Regions from separate parts of the Homo sapiens genome. Here all the other regions are linked to region 3. The links are contacts of gene promoters, found by promoter capture Hi-C in blood cells and fetal thymus (Javierre and others, 2016). All regions are on one chromosome and are shown on one strand. The core of a region is centred on a gene start or on the middle of the fragment in contact, and the rest is flanking DNA. Distances in the headings are between cores, read along the strand shown.

Evidence for each region. The method cuts DNA at HindIII sites, captures the fragments that hold promoters and counts their contacts. A CHiCAGO score of 5 or more calls a contact.
Region 1: a contact is called between the fragment with the promoter of VIPAS39 here and a fragment that was not itself captured in region 3, in 1 of 17 cell types (total CD8 T cells). The highest score is 5.6, in total CD8 T cells.
Region 2: a contact is called between the fragment with the promoter of POMT2 here and a fragment that was not itself captured in region 3, in 1 of 17 cell types (total CD8 T cells). The highest score is 5.7, in total CD8 T cells.
Region 4: a contact is called between the fragment with the promoter of SNW1 here and a fragment that was not itself captured in region 3, in 1 of 17 cell types (monocytes). The highest score is 5.8, in monocytes.

The regions. Positions count from the first base shown.
Region 1 is chr14:77,455,773-77,458,924 of GRCh38, reverse strand. VIPAS39 (VPS33B interacting protein, apical-basolateral polarity regulator, spe-39 homolog) reads left to right here and starts at 1,324. Exons shown (of 20, transcript NM_001193315.2): 1 at 1,324-1,430. It overlaps AHSA1 (activator of HSP90 ATPase activity 1), which reads right to left and starts at 832. Exons shown (of 9, transcript NM_012111.3): 1 at 656-832. The coding sequence starts at 735. RefSeq lists enhancers at 576-755, 481-1,003, 926-1,385, 1,004-1,526. The HindIII fragment of the contact is 4,049 bases long and covers 1-3,152 here.
Region 2 is chr14:77,319,011-77,322,132 of GRCh38, reverse strand. It overlaps POMT2 (protein O-mannosyltransferase 2), which reads left to right and starts at 1,250. Exons shown (of 21, transcript NM_013382.7): 1 at 1,250-1,699. The coding sequence starts at 1,452. It overlaps GSTZ1 (glutathione S-transferase zeta 1), which reads right to left and starts at 1,097. Exons shown (of 9, transcript NM_145870.3): 1 at 950-1,097. The coding sequence starts at 964. RefSeq lists enhancers at 434-483, 15-876, 754-1,023 and silencers at 1,104-1,483, 1,714-1,763. The HindIII fragment of the contact is 6,086 bases long and covers 1-2,515 here.
Region 3 is chr14:73,054,533-73,058,029 of GRCh38, reverse strand. It overlaps RBM25-AS1 (RBM25 antisense RNA 1), which reads left to right. Exons shown (of 2, transcript NR_184256.1): 2 at 1-1,200. Among named protein-coding and RNA genes, the nearest start is that of RBM25, 2.3 kb to the left of the region's middle. RefSeq lists enhancers at 1-183, 1-219. The HindIII fragment of the contact is 2,809 bases long and covers 1-2,756 here.
Region 4 is chr14:77,759,874-77,762,994 of GRCh38, reverse strand. It overlaps SNW1 (SNW domain containing 1), which reads left to right and starts at 1,839. Exons shown (of 14, transcript NM_012245.3): 1 at 1,839-1,881. The coding sequence starts at 1,868. SLIRP-OT1 (SLIRP overlapping transcript 1) reads right to left here and starts at 2,227. Exons shown (of 2, transcript NR_161324.1): 1 at 1,879-2,227. RefSeq lists enhancers at 326-1,100, 1,648-1,967, 1,875-2,649. The HindIII fragment of the contact is 7,128 bases long and covers 1,521-3,121 here.

The sequences.
Region 1 (3,152 bases), core at 75-2,574, 4.4 Mb before region 3:
TCAGTGGAATTCAAAAATAAGGAAACTAATATTACTTTGGGAAGATTTCATGAAGGAGGGCAGTTATTTTAAGAACGGTCAGGTTATAAAACCACGGCTGCTCGGCAACCTGGAGTTCCAACACACCCGACCTGATAGTTCCGGGTGAGAGGCCGCAGCTATCTGAGCTCTGAGCACCTGCACAACACGTTCTCAATCTCCCGCGGGACCGCTGCAGCGGTCCCCTATGAATGACTTTTAATTTTACCGCAGGCCGCAAAATAGGAATTACAGACCCCTGGCCTTAGGCCTTTCACAGCTATCTCCCAACACAATCAAAGGAGGTTCCAGTCTCAGTGACTCCTCTGGCCACGTGTAATAAGCACCTCCCTGCTCGGGCTGGATGCAGCAGCCAGGGCGTTATCTCCTAGTCTCTCTGACAACCCTCCTCTGGGGCGCAGCCCTCCACGTCCATCTCCCTCCCCTCAAACACTGAGAAGGTGACCGCGGAGTGGAGAGGCCTGGGGCTACGGACCCCTGCCACAGGAAGGACCCACCCCCATCTCCGGACAGGGCTACCTCAGCCCCAGCTCTGTCCGGGCCGAGGTTCTAGGAACCCTGAAACCCTGGCCCGGCCGCAGGTCTCCCAAGGCCGGCCTGCTTTTCTGGCCCTCACCAGTGCCAGTTGTTGACGTTGGTGGCGTCCGCCCGCTCCTCCACGATCCAGCGTGGGTCTCCCTCACCCCACTTGGCCATCGGCTCTCCTATCGCGGCGCCACCAGCTCCGGAGCAGCCGTAGCCACAGCCTCAGGACCGCTTAGTGCCAGCCGCCCGGCAGCGCCTGGAAACTACTAGAAGCGGCCGCAAGCACCTCCTGGCTTGCTTTTCCCTCCACCCCCTCCCCTCCTTAACTTCCGGCTCCTCCCCACTCCCACCGGTTACTTCCGTCCCAACTCGCCGCACCGTGGGTTCCGCCTGATTTAGAGATCCTTCAGACTCCATCGGGTTCTCCCCAAAAAGCGTCCCGAAACCCAACTGCTCATACAACCATTCCTCACCCATAGGAAAACAAAGAACACGTCTCATTGCTTCCCTGGACCCTAAATCGCCCTTGCTGAGCCTCATGGGAATTGTAGTCTTGCTACGTGACTCGCTGGATAACCGCGGAAGGTCTCGCGGAAAGGAGAGGAAATGACCTAGCACGGTGCTTGGGGTTTCTGGGGGCTGTAGTCAAGAAGCCTTGTGGTTCGTCGGGACAGCGCCTGACAGCAGAGGCAGAAGAAACTACGACTTCCAGCATGCCCTGCGGTCTCGTTATTCGTGTTTTCTCTCCGCCCTACGATTATTCCCTTCCGCCCCCTTCTCTAAGCTGCACAGCCTGAATAGAAGGGCTGGTCCAGCGGCGGCGGAGGCTGGCGCTGTCCTGAGAGGGAGGGCTCTGTGCGGAAGAGGTGAGGGTGTCCCAAGCCCCTTGGGTCGCGTATCTGGCTGGATCCAGCCTCTCCGCATCTTGATCTTTTCCCCTCTTCTAGGAGGCATCCCTACACCCTATGACTACAGGCCTGATTCTCTTCTTTCAGTCAGGGCGACCCTTGGGCGCTGGAGTACGCTTGGGACTGGGGCTGCGAGTGAGCACCAGCGATTGGTTCGGAAGCGGACATTTGGTTCAGAACGAGCATTTAACTCTGCCAGGGATCCGCTGGGCTCTGACGACTGCGGTAGATCCATGGCTTCCTGGACGTTCACCCGTAGAGTCATCCTAGCTTAACTCTTGTTCCCTGGTCTCAGTTCACAAGCCTCACCTGTATCTTCCTGGCTCGGAAGATAATTGAAACCAAGTCTGACTTCTCAGTAGGTGGTTTTTGGAGTTTTCTGAGGCAGGGAGCATGTTGTGGTTTTCTTGCTGATTCTTCTGTTTTCCTTTGTAAAGTTCCTGTTCTCCCCTGAGGTCTCTCACCCTGCCTTGTGGGCTGTCAGTAAACAAGAGACGATAAAGACAAACCTCTGAAGTATTTTAAATCATGTTGAAGCACCTGTCACTCTTAAGAGTGACAATCGTACCTGATTACTTTATAACTCTAGAGCCACTAGATCATTATCTATACTTGCCAAGTAAACCTAGCTTCTCATTTGGCGTTATAAATACAAATTGATGGCAGTTGTCTACTGCCATTGCATGGTTAAAAAGATTCCAGAAATCCTCTGGTAGATTATTGTGTTTGTTAGACACATTCTATGTCTATCTGTAGATAATTACTATAGTGAAGGAATGATCTCTAGTTTTCTGGAAAGTGAAAAATAGGTAGAAGGACCATGCAAGACACTAGAAATGGTCTAGGAGCCAGAAAGCCTGGATTGTAATTTGAAATAGGAGCATTTAACAAAGTGGCTTTGATACTGAACTCTTTTGTGCCTCACTTTCCCCATGAGTAACATGGAAATGGAATCTCCCAGGCCTACCTTACAAGATTGTTCTGAGGATCAAACGAATGACAGAGTGATTTATGAACTGACATGTGTGCCAGAGACATTTATATGTTCTATACACATCTTCAGCATTTGTGGCTACTCAGAATTTTTGTATTTTTTTTAATCTTTAGGATTGCTAAAAAATATTTTCTTTTTTAGCTTTTCCCAAGGTACCAGGATGATGTATTAATAATAAAAGTTACTATTGAGTGTTAATTTTGGGTCAGGCACTAAGCACTTTACATGTATTAACTGGTTTACTCCTCAGAACCATTTCTAAGGTAGGTCATCTGTTATGCCCATTTAACAGACGGGAAAACCAAGACAGAAAAATGTCAGTATGATATTCCATATTAAAAGGAAATAACATTTAGTATTTACTTTCTGCTAGACACTTTTATAGATGTTCCCTGCAACCCTGTGAGATAGGATATAATTTTCTCCAAGGCTTAGAAGTAAAGTCATTTATCCACTTTGCTCAGAATTAAGAGAAACCAGGATTTGAACTCAAGGTTGCCTGACTACAATGTCTGTGTGGGATGATTTCATGGTGTCTGCCAGCATTTTTGGTTTATCTCCCTAAAATTAAATACAGAAAAGGATTTTTAAACAACCCTGTACCAGTAGAAATCAATTAGTGATGTCTGCCGTGAGAAGGGACCAGATAGTAGAAAATCCCCACAATACCCTTGCTATCCCTATAT
Region 2 (3,122 bases), core at 1-2,500, 4.3 Mb before region 3:
TAACGTGACGCAAAGTCCCATCTAACGTGCCACCTTCCTTAGTGCCACAAAAGTGGTTCTCAAACTTCATGGCACGTTAAGAACCATCTAGACCGCTTATAAAAACATGCAGATTCTCGAGCCCGTTCCACCAGAGATGAACAGAGTGGCTCTGGAGCAGGCCCCGGGAAGAACATGTGAAAGCCGTGAAGCTCCCCAGGTGATTGTCATGACTGCCTCTCCTCGCTCGGGGCCTTTTTTTTTTTTTTTTGAGCCGGAGTCCCGCTCTTTCGCCCAGGCTGGAGTGCAGTGGCGCGATCTCGGCTCACTGCAAGCTCCGCCTCCTGGGTTCACGCTATTCTCCTGCCTCAGCCTCCCGAGTAGCTGGGACTACAGGCGCCCGCTACCACGCCTGGCTAATTTTTTTGTATTTTAATAGAGACAGGGTTTCATCGTGTTAGCCAGGATGGTCTCTATCTCCTGACCTTGTGATCCGCCCGCCTCGGCCTCCCAAAGTGCTGGGATTACAGGCGTGAGCCACCGCGCCCGGCCCGGGGACTCTTAAAATACAAACATTACTGGAAGGTCACCTCCTGCTAGGGCCAAGAGAAGAGCATGAAGGGCTGCGAGAAATTGGGAGGCTTGGGGCGACGTTTGGAAGCCTTAGTGGAGGGAGGGGTCTGTTATGGGGAGCAGGGAGGGCGGAGCAGAAGTGAAGCGCGACCGGACAGCGACTCCACCCTGCTACGCACTCCCTACCAGGACCGCCTCCTCTGGCCCAACCCTCCCGGAACTTCGAGCCCCAGCGGGCAGCGCGCAGCACGCAGGCGCAGAGCGTGCCCGGCGCAAAGCACTGCATGCCGGGAGTCGTTGTCGGCCTGGGCGGGCGGTGCAGCTCACTTCTGACCCCGCCCCCCAGGGTCTCCAGGTGTCTAACCAGCTTCCCTCCACCCGGGTGCGCGTCACAGACCTTCCCCGCCTGCATCTGGCACTTCGCGCGACCCCCTCCTCCAGGCCGAGAAACTTCGCGCCTGGGACCTGCCGACGACTAAGGCTCAGTGAGACTCGACGAATCAGGCCCGTGTCTTTCGTCCGGGTAAAGCGAGGGGCTGGACTAGAAAGATCCTTCCGGTCGCCTCTGGCTCGCCCAGCTCTCCCGCCACGCCCCGTACCTGGGGGCTGCTGGGAGTTGCAGTTCCCTGAGCCCGACCCCTCCTGCCCAGTCCCCCCCGCCCCGGGCCGGCCGGCCCTCCCGGTCCCGACATGCTCTGCGCCTCCTGCCGCCTCCTAGCGGCCCGGGCCGCGACCACGCTGCCCGCCCCGCCCCGAGCCCGGGGCCCCGCGCTCCGCTGCAGTGAAGGGCGTTGCATTTCCCGGGGTACCCCGAGCTGCCCTCTTGTGACTCCTTGGCGGGGCGGCTGGTCAGACAAAGTGTGCCTCCGGGCCGGAGGGCGACCCAGAGGAGGGGGAAGATGCCGCCGGCCACGGGCGGAGGCCTGGCAGAGTCCGAGCTGCGTCCCCGGAGGGGCCGCTGTGGCCCCCAGGCTGCTAGGGCCGCAGGCCGGGACGTGGCCGCTGAGGCTGTGGCGCGAAGCCCCAAACGGCCTGCTTGGGGCTCACGGCGCTTCGAGGCGGTCGGCTGGTGGGCCCTGCTGGCCTTGGTGACGCTGCTGTCCTTCGCCACCCGCTTCCACCGCTTGGACGAGCCGCCGCACATCTGGTGAGTGATGGGAGGGACTCGGCGGGCACCATGGCAACCGCGACGGGACGCCGCCCTCTGATTGGCCCGAGGGTACGGAGGGGGCGGGATCTATAGGAGGAGGGCCACGGTGGAGGGGAACTTGAGGTATCGGGTGGGTTGGCCTCTGGCGAGGTGCATTCTCTGGGAGGGGGATCGTTTTGCTCTGGTGGTGGGGCAGTGGGATTCTTAGTATCTGAGGAAGCAGCCCTCATGTCTTCCAGGTTATGCTACAGTGCATCACCTGGCTTGCAAATTGTGGCTTTTAAAGGTGCTTTCAACTTTCCAAAGAGAATTGCAAATTTTTGGGTACAGAATTTTCTAAGGCCTGAGTTCCTATGTCTGCAGGATTTTCAGGCATCAACAGAGGAGAAAATACCTAACTGTGTACCTTTATCCTATAGGGCAAGGACAGTTTGGGTGTTCAGGTATGGTGACCAAAGGATTTTATGAGGCAGAACTCTTCTTGTGAGAAGAGATTTATTTTCTTAAAGGTTTTAGCTTGTACTATCCAGATACTGGGTGTCAGAAATGGAATTCTTTAAGCAAAAAGCAGGCAAGAAAACAGACTGTCAGGGTTGCTTTATTTAGAAATTAATAAATTAGCTTGTTATTGTGTCGTGACTGCTGGCAGAAGATGAGACTCCTGGGTTAGAGACAAAGGACTTTATTACAGGAAATAGGATGCATGTTAGAAGCAGTTTCCCTTGCCATCCAAGTCCCACAGGGTGACGCTATGGGTTTAAATGGATGACTGCACAGGCAGTGGGTTGCATCCAAGTGAAGGAACGACAAGCTTGGAAAATCTGCTGTTTTATAGAAGGCAGTACGCAGACCTCCTCTTTGTCCTGGAGGGAGACACTGCCTCTTCTCTCAAAGTTGCTTGCTGCAAACACAACCATGAGAAATGGCCCAGGTGAGATGCAGTCAGGGCCTTGCATTCTTGGTATACCCAGAATGATGTGTAGAGGCACGAGCAATCTGACAGCCTCTCTCACTCCTCGATTCTATGGTCTTGGCTTCTAGCAGATTTTCACATGAATATACAACTCCCCTGGCTACTCACATCTTTTCAGTTTGTCCCTTACAGCATTTAATTAAGGTTGTTGTCAATGGGACTCTAAGCAGCAGAATAAGGCCAGCTTACAGTATTTACCTCAACCATGCCCTCCAGGGTCCTGGATTCAGCCACTTGTGAATAAGTCCTGGGGGCACCGAGGAATCTTATTTCAGACATCTGGGCTGCAGTCTAAGACCAGTCTATTAACCACTGTGACCTGTGCACAGGGGTTCAGATTGATCTCTGATCTTTGGTGTCATTACCAGTAATTACAATAGCCCACTACCCTTGTAAAAATTTTTTTAAGAAAGTAATTACCAGGCTGGGCGCAGTGGCTCACACCTG
Region 3 (3,497 bases), core at 103-2,602:
AAAAGTCCTGTAATACTAGTTAACACAGCTTTCGTTCTGTAATCTAAACGTGCTAAAAGAACTTAGCTTAAGTTAATGGAAATGAATAAAATTAATCATAAATGATTACGTTATTCCAATTGTGGACCTTATAGGCAATATCTAGTTACACGCCTTTCTCAACTGCTTGCCTCTAGGAAGGCATAAAACGGATTCAGTATAAAGTTATTGCCTCCCTGAGTTCCTGGTGCTGTGTTAAGTGCTGGAAGTATGAAGGCAAATGGAAGTGAGATTTGTTCCTGTCCTGCAAGAACTGTGAGCCAGGTGAAATAGATGACAAACCATGACCAGCCTAATATAAAATTGAAACATACTACACACTTCCTGCCTGCCTCCCCTACTTAATTTTACTCTAAAGCACTCATAACCATCTATCATAACATACATTTTTCTTGCTGATTTTATGGTCCGTCACTACCCCCACTAGAATGTGAATGTAAGCAATGCATGGATTGCCTGTTTTGTGCAAGAACAGGTCCTGGTACATAGCAAGCGCTCAATAAATATTTGTTGAGTGACAGAAATGATTACCGGCCGGGCGCGGTGGCTCACGCCTGTAACCCCAGCACTTTGGGAGGCCGAGGCGGGTGGATCACCTGAGGTTAGGAGTTCGAGGCCACCCTGGCCAACATGGCAAAACCCCGTCTCTACTGAAAATACAAAAATAAACTAGGCGTGGTGGCAGGCGCCTGTAATCCCAGCTACTCGGGAGGCTGAGGCAGGAGAATCGCTTGAACCCTGGAGGCGGAGGTTGCAGTGAGCCGAGATGGCACCACTGCACTCCAGCCTGGGCAACAAAGTGAGACATTGTCTCAAAAAAAAAGAAAAGAAAAGAAAAGAAATGATTAACATATGATGAGTACCAATAGAACACAAAATTTAGTGGGAGCACAAATGAGAAAGTAGCACTAATTACTACCATCTGCAAAATTTACATCCTTCTATACTTCTGCTTGCTAGGTTTCCTTACCATTAACTAAAGTTAATAATACCTTTGGCCGTGCGTGATGACGAGTGCTTGTAGTCCCAGTTACTTGGGAGACGAAATTAACTTATGTATGTTTGTACTTTGTTCAGTAAAGTGCTATTCAAATTTATAGTTTTTATAGTGCTACTCTATAATGCTATTTATTGTTTGTAAATAAAATGAGTTTCTTTTTTTGTTTTGTTTTGTTTTTGTTTTTTGAGGAGGTGTCTCTGTTTCCCAGGCTAGAGTGCAGTGACGTGATCTTGGCTCACTGCAATCTCTGCCTCCCAGTTCAAGCGATTCTTGTGCCTCAGCCTCCCCAGTAGCTGGGATTATAGGCGTGGGTCACCATACCTGGCTAACTTTTGTATTTTTAGTAGAGATGGGGTTTCACCATGTTGGCCAGGTTGATCTCCAACTCCTGACCTCAGGTAATCCGCCCACCTGGACCTCCCAAAGTGCTGGGATCAAAGCTGTGAGCCACCATGGCCGCCCAAGAGTTTGTGCCTATTTACAACAAAAGGCATAAACAGAAATCTCAGATTAATCTGTGTCCCTTTTTATTATTAGAAACATTGTACATGAATTTGTGTTTACTGTGTAATAAAGGGAGCCCTCAGGCAACAATTTGCTAACTTTCCTACCTTAGACAATTTGTTGCTGATGTTCATGCAGCATCCATTCCCCTTGCCTTTAGTAATGAACCCTCCACATTTTTTAAAAGAAACCATCTTGGCCGGGTGCGGTGGCTCACGCCTGTAATCCCAGCACTTTGGGAGGCCGAGGCAGGCAGATCACGAGGTCAAGAGATCAAGACCAGCCTGACCAACATGGTGAAACCCCGCCTCTACTAAAAATACAAAAATTAGCTGGGCTTGGTGATGTGTGCCTGTAGTCCCAGTTACTTGGGAGGCCAAGGCAGGAGAATCGCTTGAACCTGGGAGGCAGAGGTTGCAGTGAGGCGAGATTGCGCCACTGCACTCCAGCCTGGGCAACAGAGCAAGACTCTGTCTAAAAAAAGCCAGGTGCAGTGGCTCACACCTGTAATCCCAGCACTTCAGGAGGCCGAGGCGGGTGGATCACCTGAGGTCAGGAGTTCGAGACCAGCCTGGCCAACATGGCGAAACCCTGTCTCTACTAAAAATAACAAAAATTAGCTGGGCGTGGTGGCAGGCACCTGTAATCCCAGCAGCTCAGGAGGCTGAGGCAGGAAAATCGCTTGAACCCAGCAGGCAGAGGTTGCAGTGAGCCGAGATCGCGCCATTGCACTCCAGCCTGGACAACAAGAGCAAAACTCGGTCTAAAAAAAAAAAAAAGAAAAGAAACCATCCTTCCACTACTCCAGATCCATGTACTTTGGATAGGAAGTCCCAACTCTAACCAGACCCCCTTAGGACACAGGAGTAAACTTACAACCTAATCAAAACCTGATGATTTAGTCACCCCTCCCTTTTTTTTTTTTTTTTTTTTTTGGTACTAGCCACTGTTTAAAGCATTTTGCAAATATCAACTCCTTTAATCCTCATAACAACCCCCTGAAGTAAGAACTATTGTGATACAAATGAAGAAACCAAGGCTTGCAAAAATTAACCTATCAAAGGCTACAAAAATAGTAAGTGAGCCAGTCTGGTTCCTGAGTTCGTGCTCTGGAACATTATACTGCTTCATCCTTTCAGGAATAATCCTAAAAAGAAGGGGAGGGGTCTCTATATTTTTCATTTAAATTGATTTTTTTTTTTCAATTTAAGCTTAGGAGGATTTAAGCTTAGAATAGATGGGGATGAGAATGAAATCACAGAAGAAAGCAGAAGTAAGACAGGGTGAGAGATTTTTGACAATATCAGTTGAGAAAATGGTTCATTCATTCATTTTGTTTGTTTTTTGGTTTGTTATTGCTGTTGTTATTTGAGATAGGGTCTCCCTTTGTTGTCCCGGCTAGAGTGCAGTGGCATGATCACGGCTCACTGCAGCCTCAACTTTCCAGGCTCCAGCGATTCTCCCACCTCAGCCTCCCAAAAGCCAGGATTACACTGAGCCCGGCTGGCTCAGCTACTCCTAAAGCCAGCTGTTCTAGGCTTATCAGTATGTAACCCAATACATTACTTTTCCGAAATCAGTTTGAGTTGAGTTTTCTATTCCTTACACAGAAAGAACTCTAAATGATACACTTATATACCACTTGTAGAGAACAAGCCAAGCCATTCATTTGCGATGCCAGTTATCCTCCTTCTATTTTTTTCTTACAAATCCTTGCTAAGGAAACTGTAGATAATTAATTTGGATATTACATTCTGTGTGCATTTGGACACCATTCTTTTTTTTTTCTTTTTTTTTTTTTTGAGATGGAGTTTTGTTCTCATTGCCCAGGCTGGAATGCAATGGCATGATCTCGGCTCACCGCAACTTCCGCCTCCCAGGTTCAAGCGATTCTCCTGGCATAGCTTCCCAAGTAGCTGGGATTACAGGCACATGCCACCATGCCGAGCTAATT
Region 4 (3,121 bases), core at 590-3,089, 4.7 Mb before region 3:
TTCCGCCTCCCGAGTTCAAGCGATTCTCCTGCCTCGGCCTCCCGAGTAGCTGGGATTACAGGCAAGCACCACCACGCCCGGCTAATTTTGTATTTTCAGTAGAGACGCAGTTTCTCCATGTTGGTCAGGCTGGTCTCAAACTCCCGACCTCAGGTGATCTGCCCGCCTCAGCCTCCCAAAGTGCTGGGATTAAAGGCACAAGCCACCACACCCAGCCAAAGCTACATCTTAAACTCTAATCTTCGGGCTCCCAGGCCATGCAGGTTATATTACACAATGTGATTAACAATCCTGTATTTACCAAAAGATTTTTTCTTTTTGTTTTTTTGGTTTACATGCTGTGGCAGGCAGAATTCTAGGATATCCCCCAAGATCTCCTCCTCACCCAACCCCCACAGTACCTGACCTACATAACCCCTGGGGCCATGACTATGAAGATTCTGATTCTGTTATGCGGTGTGGCAGAGTTGATTTTTTTTTTTTTTTTGAGACAGAATTTTACTTTGTCACCCACGCTGGAGTGCAATGGTGCAATCTCGGCTCACTGCAACCTCCACCTCCTGGGTTCAAGCGATTCTTGTACCTCAGCCTCCCAAGTAGCTGAGAAAACAAGAGCACATCACCACACCCAGCTATTCTTTTATATTATTTATTTATTTATTTATTTATTTATTTTTATTTTTTGAGACGCAGTCTCACTCTGTCGCCAGGCTGGAGTGCAGTGGCGTGATCTTGGCTCACTGCAACCTCCGTCTCCTGATTCACACGATTCTCCTGCCTCAGCCTCCCCAGTAGCTAGGACTACAGGAGCGCGCCACAACGCCCAGCTAATTTTTGTATTTTTAGTAGAGACAGGGTTTCACCATGTTGCCCAGGCTTTGTCGAACTCCTGAGCTCAGGCAATCCGCCCGCCCCGACCTCCCAAAGTGCTAGGATTACAAGTGTGAGCTACTGCGCCCGGCCAAGAGTTGATCTTAAAATAGGGAGATTATCCAGGTGCTCCTGATCTAATCACATGAGCCCTTTAAAAGCAGGGCATTTTTCTCCAACAGTGGCAGAAGAGGAGTCAGAAAGATGTGCCTCAGAAAGCAAATATCCATGTTGTGAACTACCAATAAATAGGGCTCATGTGGGAAGGACTCGAGAGTGACCCCTAGGAGCTGAGGGTGGCCACCACTAACAGCACAAAACAAAACAGGGAACTCGATCCCACAACCGCCAGGAACTGATTTTTGCCAACAAGAATGAGTTAGGAGATGGATTTTTCTCCAGAGCCTCCTATGAGATTTCAGCCTTGTCATACCCTGGGCAGAGAACCCAGACACTCGGTAAATTACCAAGGATTACGAAATATCTCCCCAAGAGAGTGTTTTGGCGGGTGAGAGGATATGGTTTAAAGAAAAGTTTTGAGTGTGAATGTTTTCAGAGAGTCCAAGGACTCTCCATTAGCTAGTCTCATTATTACCTGTCGTTTTAAACGCCCTATCACTCTTACTTAAAGTAGCTGTCCCCGGGAAGCTTTTGTATTTTGTACCCCTTCTCGGGGAACGGGACTGAGTAAGGAACGTAATAAAGCGGCCTAAAAGGCATCTCCCTGTATCTTTGATATTTTGCCTAGGGAACGCCCTATCATGTCGCATATAAGCGATCGAGTTATGCATTTGTTGCTAGCTGAAGAGATTATTCCTTGATAACCGCTTGGTCTGGTCAGAATACAAACGGTACTCCTGTTCAAAGAACTACAAATCCCAGAAGGCCTTTTCGGCCAGAGCGCCTGCGCATCGCGCACTCCTTCCTTTCCGCTCCTCATCATCTGGAAAGACCCGCCCAGCGGTGCTGTCGCTCGCGCTGGAAGAAGCGGAAGAAGATGGCGCTCACCAGGTGGGTTGTTGATTGGGGTCCTCGATACGGAAGGGTCTGGGAGTACCAGTCTTCTTCATTTCTCTTCCCATACCCTCCGGGCGGTGACCTGACCCGGGGCACAGAATGACGTGGGCCAAGACTACGGCTACGCCCTCCCGCTGGCCGCCGCTACGACTAGGCCTAGTCGAAGCTGGGGTCTTTCAGCGGTTTCCCGGGTTTAGTTCACCCGCTCACCGAGGCCGAAAGCTGCGGAGTGGTCTCAGACACTGAAGAGTGGGTTTTTCGCGTGAGCATCTTGCGGGGAGCGGACAGCGCTCCCTCAGGTCCGCGGCTCGGGCGAACGAGATGGGGTTGGTGACGGTAGTGGCTTATTTGGGCGGAGTGAAGCGCGCGGGCTGCGACTGCGCGGCTTTCCGGCCGTTTGCCTGTGGTGGTCTCTCTCCTTTCGCTGTCCACTGGGTGTCCCGAAACAAGGATTCCTGAAAAAAGAGGCCCGGAGCTGAACACAGATTTAAATGAGCCACAGTAGTGACCGCCGTCTGCTGATATGCGCCACTGCTCCGCATTTTAACTTTGGAGCTTAGAATTTCTTCCGTAGATAGAACCACCTCAGTTTTGCTGTTTCCGGTTACCTTAGTAACCGTCTGTAAAGTGCTCTCCGCCTTTAAGAAAAAGATGCTTTTCAGTGGGAGAGTCCGAGAAGTTACGCTACTCCTACTAGTTCCCAGCCTTGCTGCCCCATTTTAAGTGGAAAAACTTTCCATGCGAACTCAACAGGAAAAGGCTAGTGTTCAGGAAGGTTATAGATAAAGTAATCCTTTCAGGACATCAGCTTGAGCTCTTTTAACACCCTTCATTCTCCTCACGCATGTTTTTTTTTCTGGCTGATGACAGTATGACTCCAAAAGTTTTAATCAAAAAATTATTTTGGGAATTACTGTTGGTGCCTTGCTCTGTCCTGGGGGTTGTGTACACAGAAGAAAATCTGTCTTTGGCAACAGGGAAGATAGGGGTGCAAGGTATACAGACATAAAACAATTACAGAACACAAAATGTGCATTTGTGTAATACTAACCTTAGTGCAAAAAGAATTGAATGGAATAAGTTATGTGGGCTGGAGAGTTTTCTCCCCACCCTCGTTTCTAAAATTTTTTTGCTTTTTTTTTTAACTTTATTTTTTGAGATGCGGTCTCGCTGTGTTGGCCAGGTTGGTCTTGAATTCTTGGCCTCAAGCAGTCCTCCTGTCTCGGCCTCCGAA